2 separate regions of the Homo sapiens genome follow, and region 1 is linked to region 2. Evidence: promoter capture Hi-C in 16 types of primary human blood cells and fetal thymus (Javierre and others, 2016). All regions are on one chromosome and are shown on one strand. Each heading gives the region's core, a stretch centred on a gene start or on the middle of the fragment in contact. The rest is flanking DNA. Distances are from core to core; before and after follow the strand shown. Region 1 holds the start of CTRB2 (chymotrypsinogen B2). Region 2 overlaps CFDP1 (craniofacial development protein 1).

What was found. Contacts are between HindIII fragments. The CHiCAGO score rates a contact against its expected background, and 5 or more counts as called.
Region 1: the fragment with the promoter of CTRB2 here is called in contact with a fragment that was not itself captured in region 2 in 3 of 17 cell types (M1 macrophages, non-activated CD4 T cells and endothelial precursors); the score reaches 5.6 in M1 macrophages.

What each region holds. Positions count from the first base shown.
Region 1 is chr16:75,204,855-75,211,062 of GRCh38, reverse strand. It overlaps CTRB2 (chymotrypsinogen B2), which reads left to right and starts at 3,902. Exons shown (of 7, transcript NM_001025200.4): 1 at 3,902-3,973; 2 at 4,870-4,973; 3 at 5,071-5,150; 4 at 5,243-5,321; 5 at 5,550-5,730; 6 at 6,157-6,208. The coding sequence starts at 3,922. RefSeq lists enhancers at 1,309-1,864, 1,865-2,420 and a silencer at 4,093-4,312. The HindIII fragment of the contact is 10,617 bases long and covers 1-6,208 here.
Region 2 is chr16:75,424,328-75,431,425 of GRCh38, reverse strand. All of the region lies in intron 1 of CFDP1 (craniofacial development protein 1), which reads left to right. Among named protein-coding and RNA genes, the nearest start is that of CFDP1, 5.6 kb to the left of the region's middle. The HindIII fragment of the contact is 9,499 bases long and covers 638-7,098 here.

The sequences.
Region 1 (6,208 bases), core at 2,653-5,152, 220 kb after region 2:
GAAAGCAGCCGGATTTCCAGAAACACCTGGGTTCTGTTCACATGAAATTCCAGAACCCGAAAACTAACTGATGGGCAGGATTCAGAGTTTCAGTTCCGTGAGATGAGTGGCCGCACGGCACTGTGGACGTGCTTAGCGCTGAATGGTACACTTAAAAACAGGTGCGGGCCGGGCATGGTGGCTCAAGCCTGTAATCCCAGCACTTTGGGAGGCCGGGGTGGGCGGATCACGAGGTCAGGAGGTCGAGACCATCCTGGCTAACACAGTGAAACGCCATCTATACTGAAATATACAAAAAAATTAGCTGGGCGTGGTGGCGGGCGCCTATAGTCCCAGCTACTCAGGAGGCTGAGGCAGGAGCATGGCATGAACCCGGGAGGCAGAGCTTGCAGTGAGCCAAGATCATGCCACTTCACTCCAGCCTGGGCGACAGAGTGAGACTCTATCTCAAAAGCAAACAAACAAGCAAAGAAACAACGGGTGCAATGGTCAATTTTGTTATGTGTATTACCACAATTTAAAGTTGGTTTTGTGTGTGTGTGTGAGACAAGGTCTGGCTCTGTCCCCCAGGCTGGAGTGCAGTGGCGTGATCTCAGCTCACTGCAACCTCCTCCTCCCGGGCTCAAGCCATGCTCTTACCTTAGCATCCCCAGTACCTGGGATTACAGGTGCCAGCTACCATGCCTGGCTTTTTTTTTTTTTTTTTTTTTTTTTAGCGACAGGTCTCACTATGCTGCCCAGGCTGGTCTTGAACTCCTGAGCTAAAGGGATCCTCTCCCCTTGGCCTCCCAAAGCGCAAGGATTACAACCATGAGCCACTGCACCTGGCTGCTAACAGTTTTTAAAATTTAACAATAACGACAACATCCCCTGGTGCGATGACTCACACCTGTAATCCCAGCACTTTAGGAGGCTGAGGTGGGAGGATTGCTTGAGCTGAGGAGGCTGAGGCTGCAGTGAGCCGTGATCATGCCACTGCACTACAGCCTGGGCATCAGAACCAGCCTCTTTCAACCAAAACCAAAACCTAACCTCCGGGTAAAGAAATCAGAACAGTGGTTGCTTCTGGAGGTGGGGGATTGACTGCCAAGGGGCTGTGAAGGAAATGGTCTCTGCCTTGAGGCAGGTGGTGGGTACAGAGGTGCCTGGATCCTCACAAGTTATCAACCTATATCCACTTCGTTGTTTGTTTGGTTGTTTGTTTGTTTGTTTGTTTTTGTTTTTTTGAGACAGGCTCTCACCCTGTCGCCCAGGCTGGAGTCCAGTGGCATGATCACCGCTCACTTGCAGCCTCCACCTCCTACGCTCAAGTGATCCTCCCATCTCAGTTTCCCAAGTCCCAGCCTGGATCTGGGACTCCATGCCTGCGCCATCACACCTGACTAATTTATTTTTTGTACAGACGGGGTCTCACCATGTTGCCCAGGCTGGTCTTGAACTCCTGGGCTCAAGTGAGCCTCCTGCCTCGGCCTCCCAAAGTGCTGGGATCACAGGCATGAGCTACTGCACCTGGCTTTATATACATTTTAAGTGAGGGCATTTCAAGGTAAGTAAAGGAAGAGGTGGCCAGGAGGCTGCAGCACGTGGGGACCCCCAGCTCATCCCTCCCGCTCCCACTCTGGCCAAGGCCACGGTTCTGCCTCCCCGATCCACCAGGGCCCCGGCTCACGCGTGTGTCCTGACTCATCTGTCCTGAGTGTCCCCGGGCTCCTTCCTCGCCGTTCGGGTCCAGATCCCATGGGGACTGGAGGGCAGTGTGGGGGAGGGGTCCCTTCCCCAGGAGCAGTGGAGTGGGAACACCTGTGCGTGCCTGTCCCCGACCACTGCTGCAGCTGCACGGTTCCCACAAGCCTCTGTAGCCTTTGCGGGGTTGGGGACATGGCGGGTGACGTCCTGGCCAGCGGTTAGCTCCTAAGGCCACACAGCTGGGGCCACAGGTCACTCAGGCCAGGTGAGGGCTTGCGCCCTTTCCCCCATCTGCCCCAGCCAGCTTATAGCTAGGGGCTGCCCCTGAGGCTCTAGTACCGTCTCCTTAGGGCCCTCCTGGGCCCGCCCCCTCGACTTCTGAGCTCTTCGCTGCCCTAGGGACGCAGACCTCTTTGGGTCCTGCGACCCCAGGTTCGTTTCCTCTCCTCCGAGGGTGCTCTGGACTGCTCCCACAAACTCCTAGGCTGTTTGCTTAAATCTCCCCTTCAGAGTGAGGCCCTCCTGGCCTCAGTATCAGTAATAATAATGAGAAGAAGAACTCTTTAGCTGCTGGTGTGTGTATTTTACTTATTTTAAAAATTGACTCTCTTCCCTAAACTCTCCAGCCTCCTCCCGGCTGTCAGCTGCCACACGCAGGAATTTGTTGGTTTTGTTCAGCTGTTCCCGTGGGCCTGGTGGGCACTGGCTGGCAGGAAGAGCCCATGTGCATGCAGAGGTGGGTGCGTCTCATCCCGACCAGGCCATGCTCCGTCCTGCTGGTGCCCGCCAACCCCTCTGTCCTCAGACAATCTTCTAGAATGAGCGAAGGGCCTGAACAGGTGATTCACTCAAGAAAGAGGAATGTAGGGGCCCCGCCAGCGTGGATTGCATGCTTGGCCTGGTCCTGGTGCTCAAGAAGGCTCTTCCTTTTGTCATGGGACCCATACTCTAAGCATCCTCAATTACATACAGGATCAGAGAGGGCAAGTCATTTGCCCACGGCTCCACAGCTGCCTGACCCCACAACCCGTGCTGTAAACACACATGCTGCAGGCATCAGTGTGGTGGAATTGAAAACAGCCACGAGGCACCTTTTCCTGTGCATTTTGGGGAACTTGCCCTCCATCTGGCAGCCTCAATCCAAAATTTCTCCCTCCCCCGTTTCCCAGTTGCTGAGAAAGGGCTCCACCACCCATGCTGCCACCCGCACGAGGAACCAGGTGTCCCCGCCCATGCTCTGCCCTGAGGCTCAGCCTCCATCAGTTCTCATCAGGGCGATGCCAGGCCCCCAGGCCGGGCCCTAGGCCCAGTCTTGCCCTCTGATGCCACCTGCTCAGCTCCAGGGCCCAGGTGTGCTGGCGCCTGTGTGCAGGGGTGGCCCAGTGTGAGGACAGCAGGTAGCTACCCCTCCCCTGTACACAGCCCAAGTGACCAACACAGATGTCGACTGGGCCTTCACTGAGCCTTCTTAGCCATCCCCTGGGACCCGGCGAGCACCCGCACCCCAGCCTCTGGCTACACCATGGGGCACAGGCCTGCTCCCCCAGCCTCTCCTCTACTTGGTCACATTGCCCATTGGGTTTTTTTCTTTTTTTTTGTTTTTTTTCCTTTTTTGAGACAGTCTCACTGTCACAAGGCTGGAGTGTAGTGGCGCAATCTCGTCTCACTGCAACCTCCGCCTCCCGGGTTCACACCATTCTCCTGCCTCAGCCTCCCAAGTAGCTGGGAATACAGGTGTGCGCCACCACGCCTGGCTAATTTTTTGTATTTTTAGTAGAGACGGAGTTTCACCATGTTGGCCAGGATGGTCTTGATCTCTTGACCTCGTGATCCATCCGCCTCAGCCTCCCAAAGTGCTGGGATTACAGGCGTGAGCCACCATGCCCGGCCTGCCCAGGGGTTTTCAAACCATGAAAAGATCAAGTGAATTCTTTGCAGAGCACAAGAGACTCAGCTGGGGCTCAAACCCGGGGATGCTGGACTCAGCCCCTGGAGGCCCCTGCCCAAGCCTGGGCCTGGAGGAGAAAGGCAATGGTCGAAGGCCACCTGGGTTAGCCCGGCTCAGCTAAGGCCACAGCTGCTGCCATCCCAGGCTTCCTGGCCAGCCCTGCACCGACACATCTTGCCCACTCCCAGGGAAGGGATTATCGCCCCAAGGTCTCCAGATAACAGCAGGCACACAGGGCTATAACGGGGACCGGCAGACAGGCGTCCTACACCCCTGCCAGCGGCACCATGGCTTTCCTCTGGCTCCTCTCCTGCTGGGCCCTCCTGGGTACCACCTTCGGTGAGTGCCAGGCCCTGCGGAGGCCGAAGGGTTTTCTCCTCTCACTCCCAGCCCCGAGGCCAGCAAGAGGCAGCAGGGTCCCAGCTCCCAGTTCAGCTGTGCACCGCAGTGTGGGCCTGGGCGAGTCACCGGCTCCATCTCTGCCGTGGGCGCTGAGAGGTCAATGCCTCCCTCCCAGGCTCAGCTGCCGCCTCTGAGCTCAGGAGATGGGGAGTCCCGCTCCCCTTCCTCACCCCCAGCAGACCTGAGGCTCTCAGGGGAGGAGGCGGGGGGAGGAGGCAGGTGTCCGGGGGCTGCCCTGAGGCCTTCGGGAAACCCCCAAACAGTCAGCGGCCCCAGCACAGGTTTGGGTGGTGAATGTGTGGGCAGCTGGGGCTTGGCACCGTTCAGTCCAAACCTTTCAGAACCTCGAGCCTCACCCTCTTAAACTCCTGCTCACGGAGCACTTCCCGGGTGCCAGGCGCAGAGCTGGCGCTCTGCCTGCTCACTCTACCAAACCTGTGAGGTCAGAAACAGCGTGATCCCCACTTTGCTGATGGGGACACTGAGTGGCTTAGCTGGGCAGGGAGGGAGCCAGGTTCAAACCCACAGAGTCTGGCCTCCCAGACTGAGCGCCGGGGCTGCCGCCCACCGCACGCTCCACCTGTGTGACTTCTCCGAACTGAGGTGGGGCCAACACCCCATTCCTCAGCAGCCCACAGCCCAGTTCATTGGACTCAGTTGTACCTGGGGATTCCAGCTCTGCGGAGAGGAGAGCCAGGGCCAACTTCTCAGAGAAGGGGATGTGGGAGCCAGTCTAGGTCCCAGAGACTGGAAAAGAGTTGGGAGTGAGAGGAGGCTGGAGCATTAGGACCTGGGTGGGTGGTACCCACCCCTCAGCCCACTCCCGCCCCCAGGCTGCGGGGTCCCCGCCATCCACCCTGTGCTCAGCGGCCTGTCCAGGATCGTGAATGGGGAGGACGCCGTCCCCGGCTCCTGGCCCTGGCAGGTGTCCCTGCAGGTGAGGGGGTTCTGCAAGGTGGGGGGCACCCTGGGTAGGGGCCAGGCTGGGGGTGCCCCCGGGTGGGAGGTGCTGACCCTCCCCATCTTGCTCACAGGACAAAACCGGCTTCCACTTCTGCGGGGGCTCCCTCATCAGCGAGGACTGGGTGGTCACCGCTGCCCACTGCGGGGTCAGGTGAGGACCGGGCAGCCTTGGGCTCCGCTTCCAGCACCGGTCGGGTGGGAGGGGAGCAGGGCATGTTCTCTCACCCACAACGCTCTGCCCAGGACCTCCGACGTGGTCGTGGCTGGGGAGTTTGACCAGGGCTCTGACGAGGAGAACATCCAGGTCCTGAAGATCGCCAAGGTACCCAGGCCCCGTGCAGCAGAGGGCAGGGCCGTGGGCACGGGGGGAGACCCCTCGGCTGCTTCAGGGACAGGCGCCCAGTGGGGCCGGGCCGGCCTCGTGATTCCCATTCCGGCCCTGGGGATGGACTGCTCCTTAACGGGCACCAGGGAAGGAGTCTGTCCTCGAAGCCTGCAGGTCCTGCCTCCTCCCAGGGCCTCACCCCGGCACTCTGGCCCCCACCCCCAGGTCTTCAAGAACCCCAAGTTCAGCATTCTGACCGTGAACAATGACATCACCCTGCTGAAGCTGGCCACACCTGCCCGCTTCTCCCAGACAGTGTCCGCCGTGTGCCTGCCCAGCGCCGACGACGACTTCCCCGCGGGGACACTGTGTGCCACCACAGGCTGGGGCAAGACCAAGTACAACGGTGAGGGGCCGCGGGGCTGCCTCTGGGGTCTGGGCTGCCTGGCCGTGGAGTCCCCCCGTGACCGTTTGGCTCTAAATTCCAACACGCTCCTAACTGCCCGTTCGTTATTGAAAATCTTCTGAATTTAAAATCCCCCAAATGCAAATAAAATCCAGGTCGGATCATGAGGAGCCTGCACAGGGAGCTTCTGAGCAGCGCCCGGCCGGGTGAGCCCTGCCCTGGCTGACCTGCCTGGAGTCGCAGCGTGGGGCTCCCACCCGGGCAGGGCCGAGGCCCCCTTGTCCCACAGGCGCTTCTGAGGCTCCAGGGGCCGTACCCAACATCGTGGTGATGGTGCAGGGTAGGGCAGGCGTGTCGGCCCCGGGTCTCTCCCTCCACTCTTGGCTGAGTGAGCCCAGGGGCCCTGACCCTCCTCCTGTCCTGCAGCCAACAAGACCCCTGACAAGCTGCAGCAGGCAGCCCTGCCCCTCCTGTCCAA
Region 2 (7,098 bases), core at 4,138-6,637:
CTGGAGTGCAGTAGCGGGATCTCGTCTCACTGCAAGCTCTGCCTCCCGGGTTCACGCCATTCTCTTGCCTCAGCCTCCTGAGTAGCTGGGACTACAGGTCCCCGCCAGCACACCCGAATGATTTTTTTGTATTTTTAGTAGAGACGAAGTTACACCATGTTGGCCAGGCTTGTTTCAAACTCCTGACCTCAAATGGTCTGCCCGCCTCGGCCTCCCTGAGTGCTGGGATTACAGGCGTGAGCCACCGTGCCAGGCCCAGTGTTTTTTTTTTCTAATGACAGTGTGAATAAACATCATGTTGACAGCTGAACCGTATGTTATACAGATTACTTTTCCTGCACTTCTTGTTTTCTCTGGTGCTAATAATTGCCATTTTTTGTTGCTACTTAGCTGTCTATGTACTTAACTGCTGTAAACCAAAAATAAAATTCTAAGGCGCCCCCAACCATCTGAATGGACTTCCTCCTTAGCCAGGGCTCTTTAACATTTAACCTGAGAGACTGTTTTGGGCCATGATGGGAAGTGGGGGCTGAACCTGCCTCATTGTATGTCTCTGACATTAACATCGATGCAGACTTTAAGTCTGATAATAAACATTTTGCAACCTATTCTCTCTGAAGCCTGTCTGCTAAAAGCTTCATCTGTATGATAAAACTGTGTTCTCAGCCGAGCAGTGGCTCGAGCCTATAATCCTATCACTTAGGGAGGCAGAGGCTGGTGGATCATTTGAGGTCAGGAGTTCAAGACCAGCCTGGCCAACGTGGTGTAACCCCATCTCTACTGAAAATATGAAAATTAGCCAAGTGTGGTGACGGGCGCCTGTAATCCTATCTACTGGGGAGGCTGAGGCACGAGATCTCTTGAACCCAAGAGGTGGGGGTTGCAGTGAGTGAAGATCATGCTTCTGCACTCCAGCCTGGGTAACAGAGCAAGACTCCATTTAAAAAAAAAAAGTGGCCAGGTGCGGTGGCTCACACCTTTAATCCCAGCACTTTGGGAGGCTGTGGTGGGCGGATTGCCTGAGGTCAGGAGTTGGAGACCAGTCTGGCCAACATAGTGAAACCCTGTCTGTACTAAAGATATAAAAAAATAGCTGGGTGTGGTGGCGTGTGCCTGTAATCCCAGCTACTCCGGAGGCTGGGGCAGGGGAATTGCTTGAACCAGGGGCGTGGGGTTGCAGTGAGCTGAGGTTGCGCCACTGCACTCCAGCCTGGGCAACAGAGTGAGACTCCATCTCGAAAAAACAAACAAACAAACAAAAAAAACCTCTGGTCTCCACAACCTCTATCTTAACCCAGACATTCCTTTCTGTTTAGGCAAACTCAACCTGTTGCCAACAAGAAAATTTTTAAATTTACCTGTAGCCTGGAAGCACTCCCACCCCGAGTTGTCCTGTCTTAATGGACCAAACCAGTATATTTCTCAAATGTATTTGATTGATGTCTCATGCCTCCCTAAAATATATAAAACCAAGCTGCACCCCAACCACCTTGGGCGCGTGCTCTCAGGACCTCTTGAGGGCTGCATCATGGGCTGTGGTTACTCATATGTGGCACAGAATAATTCTCTTCAAATACTTGACAAGAGTTTGACTCTTTTCGTCGACACTGCTAATTTGACTCTAAACTTTTAGAATTGTATAAATCATCTCCCAAAATATTTACATTCATTAGATTTTCACTTTAATCTTCTGAAACAGTCTTTGCCTTCTGGCCTCCACTTTGTCTTGGTTACCTTCTATGAGTACTCCAGTGTATTTACTTATTTATTTAGAGATAGAGTCTTGCTCTTGTCGCCCAGGCTGGAGTGCAGTAGCGTGATCTTGGCTCACTGCAACCTCCACCTCCCGGGTTTGAGCGATTCTCTTGCCTCAGCCTCCCAAGTAGCTTGGATACAGGTGCCCACCACCACACCCAGCTAATTTTTGTATTTTTAGTAGAGACGGGGTTTCACCATGTTGGCCAGGCTGATATTGAACTCCTGACCTCAGGTGATCCGCCCTCCTCAGCCTCCCAAACTGCTGGGATTACAGGCGTGAGCCACCACGCCTGGTCAGGAACATTCTTATGAGACCTTGAATGCCTAAAAGTAACCATGCCCCTCAGGCGTAATTGATTGTCTGTTTGAATTCTAGGTTGGAAATAATTTTCCATCAGAATTTTAAAGTGTTACTTCATTACTTTCTAGATTCCCATGTTGCTATTAATAAATATTTTGTTACTGATTTCTGCTCAATGTATAAGATCTGTTTGTCTCCGGAAGCTGGTAGAATATTCTCTTTGTTCCCATTTTCTTTTTTCTTTTTTTTCGAGACAGACTCTGTCTCTCTTGTCCAGGCTAGAGTGCAGTGGTGGCATCTAGGCTCCCTGCAACCTCCACTTCCCGGGTTTAAGCAACTCTCCCACCTCAGCCTCCGGAGTGGCTGGGACTACAGGTTCATGCCACCACGCCTGGCTAATTTTTGTATTTTTATAGTAGAGACGGGATTTCACCATGTTGGCCAGCCTGGTCTCGAACTCCTGACCTCATGATCTGCCTGCCTCGGCCTCCCAAAGTGCTGGGATTACAGGCGTGAGCCTCTACGCCTGGCCTGTTCCCATTTTCTAATATGTCACCATGATATATCTTGGTATGAGTGTTTTCAGCCATTTTGCTGAGCCTTCTGAGAACTTTTTTTTCCTATAATTTTTTTTCCTTTTCCTTTTCCTTTCTTTCCTCTCTCACTCTTTCTTTTCCTTTCCTTCCTTTCTTTTTTTTCTTTCTCTCCCTCTCCGCCCTTCTTTTTCTCTCTCTCTATTTATTTATTTTTGAGATGGAGTATAGCTCTGTCACCCAGGCTGGAGTGCAGTGGCGCAATCTCGGCTCACTGCAACTTCCGCCTTCCGGGTTCAAGCGATTCCCCTGCCTCAGCCTCTCGAGTAGCTGGGATACAGGCGCGTGCCACCACACCTGGCTAATTTTGTTTTTGTATTTTAATAGAGACGGGGCTTCACCTTGTTGGTCAAGATGGTCTCGATCTCCTGACCTTGTGATCCACTTGCTTCGGCCTCCCAAAGTGCTGGGATTACAGGTGTGAGCCACTGAGCCCAGCCAACTTTGAATATTTTTATAGCATTATGTTCTTCTTTTGTAAATGCAGTATCAGCATTTAACATACAATTTTTAACTTACATACAATAAAATTTACTGTTTTCAATGTACTGTTCTCTGATTTTTGTTAAATGCCTAGCGTTGTGTAACCTCCACCAAAATGAACAGTTTCAAGCCGTCAACCCTCTTAAAAAAAAAAAAAAACAAATTTCCCCTGCTACTCTTTGTAGTCAAACAACTCTCCCTCACCCCCGGCCCCAGCCATTAGCAACCTCTGGTCTGTTTTCCATCTTTATAGTTTTGCCTTTTTCAGAATATAATCTAAATGGAACCATAACAGTAGGCAGCTTTTTGTATCTGGCTTCTTCCGCTTAGCATAATGCATTTGAGATTCACCTGTGTTGTTGCACATGTCAGTAATTAGCTCCTTCTGTTGTTGGGTGGTAGTCCATTATATGGATATACCACAGTTTATTCTGCATTTGAAAGACACTGGGTTGTTTCCAATTTTTTATGATTACAAATAAAGCTGTTTATAAATATTTACACACAGCTTTTTCTGTGAACATGGGTTTTCATTTCACTTGAGTCAATATCTAGGAGTGGGATTACTGGGTTTTGTAGTATGTGTATGTTTAACTTTACAAGAAGCTGCTAAATTTTTTTGTGGCTTGATTGCTGTTGGTAACAAGTTTGAGAGTTCAAGTTGCTCTTCATCCTCAACAACACTTGGGGTGGTCAGATTTTTTTGTTTTTGTTTTTGTTTTAAATATTAGCTAATTTGGGGCCGAGCGCGGTGGCTCATGCCTGTATTCCCACCACTTTGGGAGGCCAAGGCAGGCAGATCACAAGGTCAGGAGTCCAAGACCAGCCTGGCCAATATGTTGAAACCCTGTCTCTACTAAAAAATACAAAGAATTAGCCGGGCATGGTGGTGCATGCCTGTAGTCCCAGCTACTTGGGAGGATGAGGAAGGAGAATCGCTTGAACCCAGGAGGTGGAGGTTGCAGTGAGCCGGAATTGTGCCACTGCACTCCAGCCTGGGCAAGAGAGCGAGACACTGTCTCGAAAAAAAAAGAAAAAAAATTAGCTAATTTCTCCTTTAGTTTGCATTTCCCTAAGGATGTTGATGCTCTTTTCATGTTCCTGTTTGCCATCATTTTATCTTCTTTGGTGTGTCTTTTGAATTCTTTGTCCATTTAAAACATTGGGTTGTTTTCAGTTTTGGAATTATATATTCTGGATATAGTCCTTTGTCAGATATTTGTTTTGTTTTTTTTTTTTTGAGACAGTCTCGCTGTCCCCCAGGCTGGAGTACAGTGGCATAATCTTGGCTCACCACAACCTCCACCTCCCGGGTTCAAGCGATTCTCCTGCCTCAGCCTCCCAAGTAGGTGGGATTACAAGCACTCGCCACCACACCCAGCTAATTTTTGTATTTTCAGTAGAGATGGGGTTTCACCATGTTTGCCAGGCTGGTCTCCAACTCCCAACCTCAAGTGATCCACCCACCTTGGCCTCCCAAAGTGCTGGGAGTACAGGCCTGAGTCACCACCCCCGGCTCCTTTGTCACATACTTGTTTTGCAGTGTTTTGTCTCTGTGCTTGTCTTTTCATTCTCTTAATAGTGTTTGCACAGCAATTTTTTTTGGTGTTTTTTTGAAACAGAGTCTTGCTCTGTTGCCCAGGCTGGAATGCAGTGGCACGATTTCACCTCACTGCAACCTTTACTTCCTGGGCTCAAACAATTTTCCTGCCTCAGCCTCTGTAGTAACTGGGACTACAGGCATGAGACACCATGCCTGGCCTGCAGAGTAAAATTTTTAAACTTGGATAAAATCCAGTTTGTCAAATTTTTCTATTATGGGTTGTGCTTTTGGAATCATATCTAAGAACTCTTTTTTGCCTAACTCGGGATTACAAAGATAGTGTATTTTCCTATGTAAAAGTTACATAGTTTTACTTTGTTGTTGTTTTTGTTTTTTTGAGATAGAGTTTCGCTCTTGTTGCCCAGGCTGGAGTGCAATGTCATGATCTTGGCTCACTGCAACCTCCGCCTCCTGAGTTCAAGGGATTCTCCTGCCTCAGCCTCCTGAGTAGCTGGGATTGCAGGCATGTGCCACCACGCCTGGCTAATTTTGTATTTTTAGTAGAGACAGGGTTTCTCCATGTTGGTCAGGCTGGTCTTGAACTCCCAACCTCAGGTGATCCGCCCACCTCGGCCTCCCAAAGTGTTGGGATTATAGGCATAAGCCACAGTGCCTGGCCTTTACTTTTTTTTTTTTTTTTTTTTTTTTTTTTGAGACAGAGTGTTGCTCTGTTGCCCAGGCTTGAGTGCAGTGGCATGATCTCAGCTCGCTGCAACCTCCGCCTCCCAGGTTCAAGCGATTCTCCTGCCTCAGCTTCCCGAGTAGTTGGGATTATAGGCGCCTGCCACCACGCCTGGCTAATTTTTGTATTTTTAGTGGAGATGGGGTTTCACCATGTTGGCCAGGCTGGTCTTGAACTCCTGACCTCTCAGGTAATCCGCCCACCCCGGCCTCCCAAAGTGCTGGGATTACAGGAGTGAGCCACCGTGCCCGGCCAGCATTTACTTTTTTAAAAAATCAGTTATCATTATTTATTTTCAGTTAATTTTTGCATAAGATATGAGTTATGGATTCTTTTTTTTTTTTTCTTTTGCATCTGGATGTCCAGTATTTTCATTATTTGTTGAAAAGATTATTCTTTCTCCATCGAATTCCCTTTGTATTTCTGTAAAGTGAACTGGCCATACTTGTATAGGTTTATTTCTGGGCCTCTGTTTCCACAGTTTCATTTACTGTTTTTGATTTAAGTGTTGAAATCAGGTAGAGAGAGTACTCCAACTTTATTCTTTTTCAAAATAGTTTTGGCTGCTCTTGTTCCTTTGCCTTTCCATATAGTTTTTTTTTTTTTTTTTTTTTTGAGGGGGATGGAGTGTCACTCTGTTGCCCAGGCTGGAGTGCAGTGGCGCGATCTCTGCTCACTGCAACCTCTACCTCCCAGGTTCAAGTGATTCTCCTTCCTCAGCCTCCTGTGTAGCTGGTACTACAGACGTGTGCCACCAGGCCTGGCCACCATATGCATTGTAAAATCACTTTGTTCATCTCTCGAAAAAGTATCCTACTTTGATTTTGTTTGGAATTGCATTGAATCTGTAGACCGTTTTGGGAAGAATTGACAATTTAACGATCTTATATTTTAGTCTATGAATACAGTCTGTATCTTTTTTTTTTAGGTGTAAAAAGTTTTTATTTCTAATTGTTTGTAACTAGTATATGGAAATACAATACAGGTTCTGCATACTAACCTTGTATTCTACAACCTTGCTAAACTCATTTACCAGTTCTGGAGGTTTTTGTAGATTCTGTGGGATTTTCCACACAGACAGTGATGTCAAATGTGAATAGAAACAGTTTTATTTCTTCCTTTCCAATATGTTTACCTTTTATATTTATTTTGCTTGCCTTGTTGTACTTTATACTTCCAGTATGATGTTGAATGCTAGTGGTGAGAGGGGACATCTTTGCCTTTTTCCCAATCTTTTTTTTTTTTTTTTTGAGACGGAGTCTCCCTCTGTTGCCCAGGCTGGAGTGTGCAGTGGCACGATCTTGGGTCACTGTGACCTCTGCCTCCTGGGTTCACGCCATTCTTCTGCCTCAGCCTCCCGAGTAGTTGGGACTACAGGCGCCCGCCACCACGCCCGCTAAGTTTTTGTATTTTTAGTAGAGACTGGGTTTCACCGTGTTAGCCAGAATGGTCTTGATCTCCTGACCTCGTGATCCGCCCGCCTCAGCCTCCCAAAGTGCTGGGATTATAGGCGTGAGCCACCGCGTCTGGCAGCCTTTTTCCCAATCTTAAGGGGGAAAAGAAACTAGTGTTTTACCACTTGATGTGGTGTTAGCTATAGGTTTTTCACAGATGCCGTGTGTGTCTGTCTGCCTGCCGTTTAAACCCTTTAGCATTGAGTAACTTATTACCAACTCAG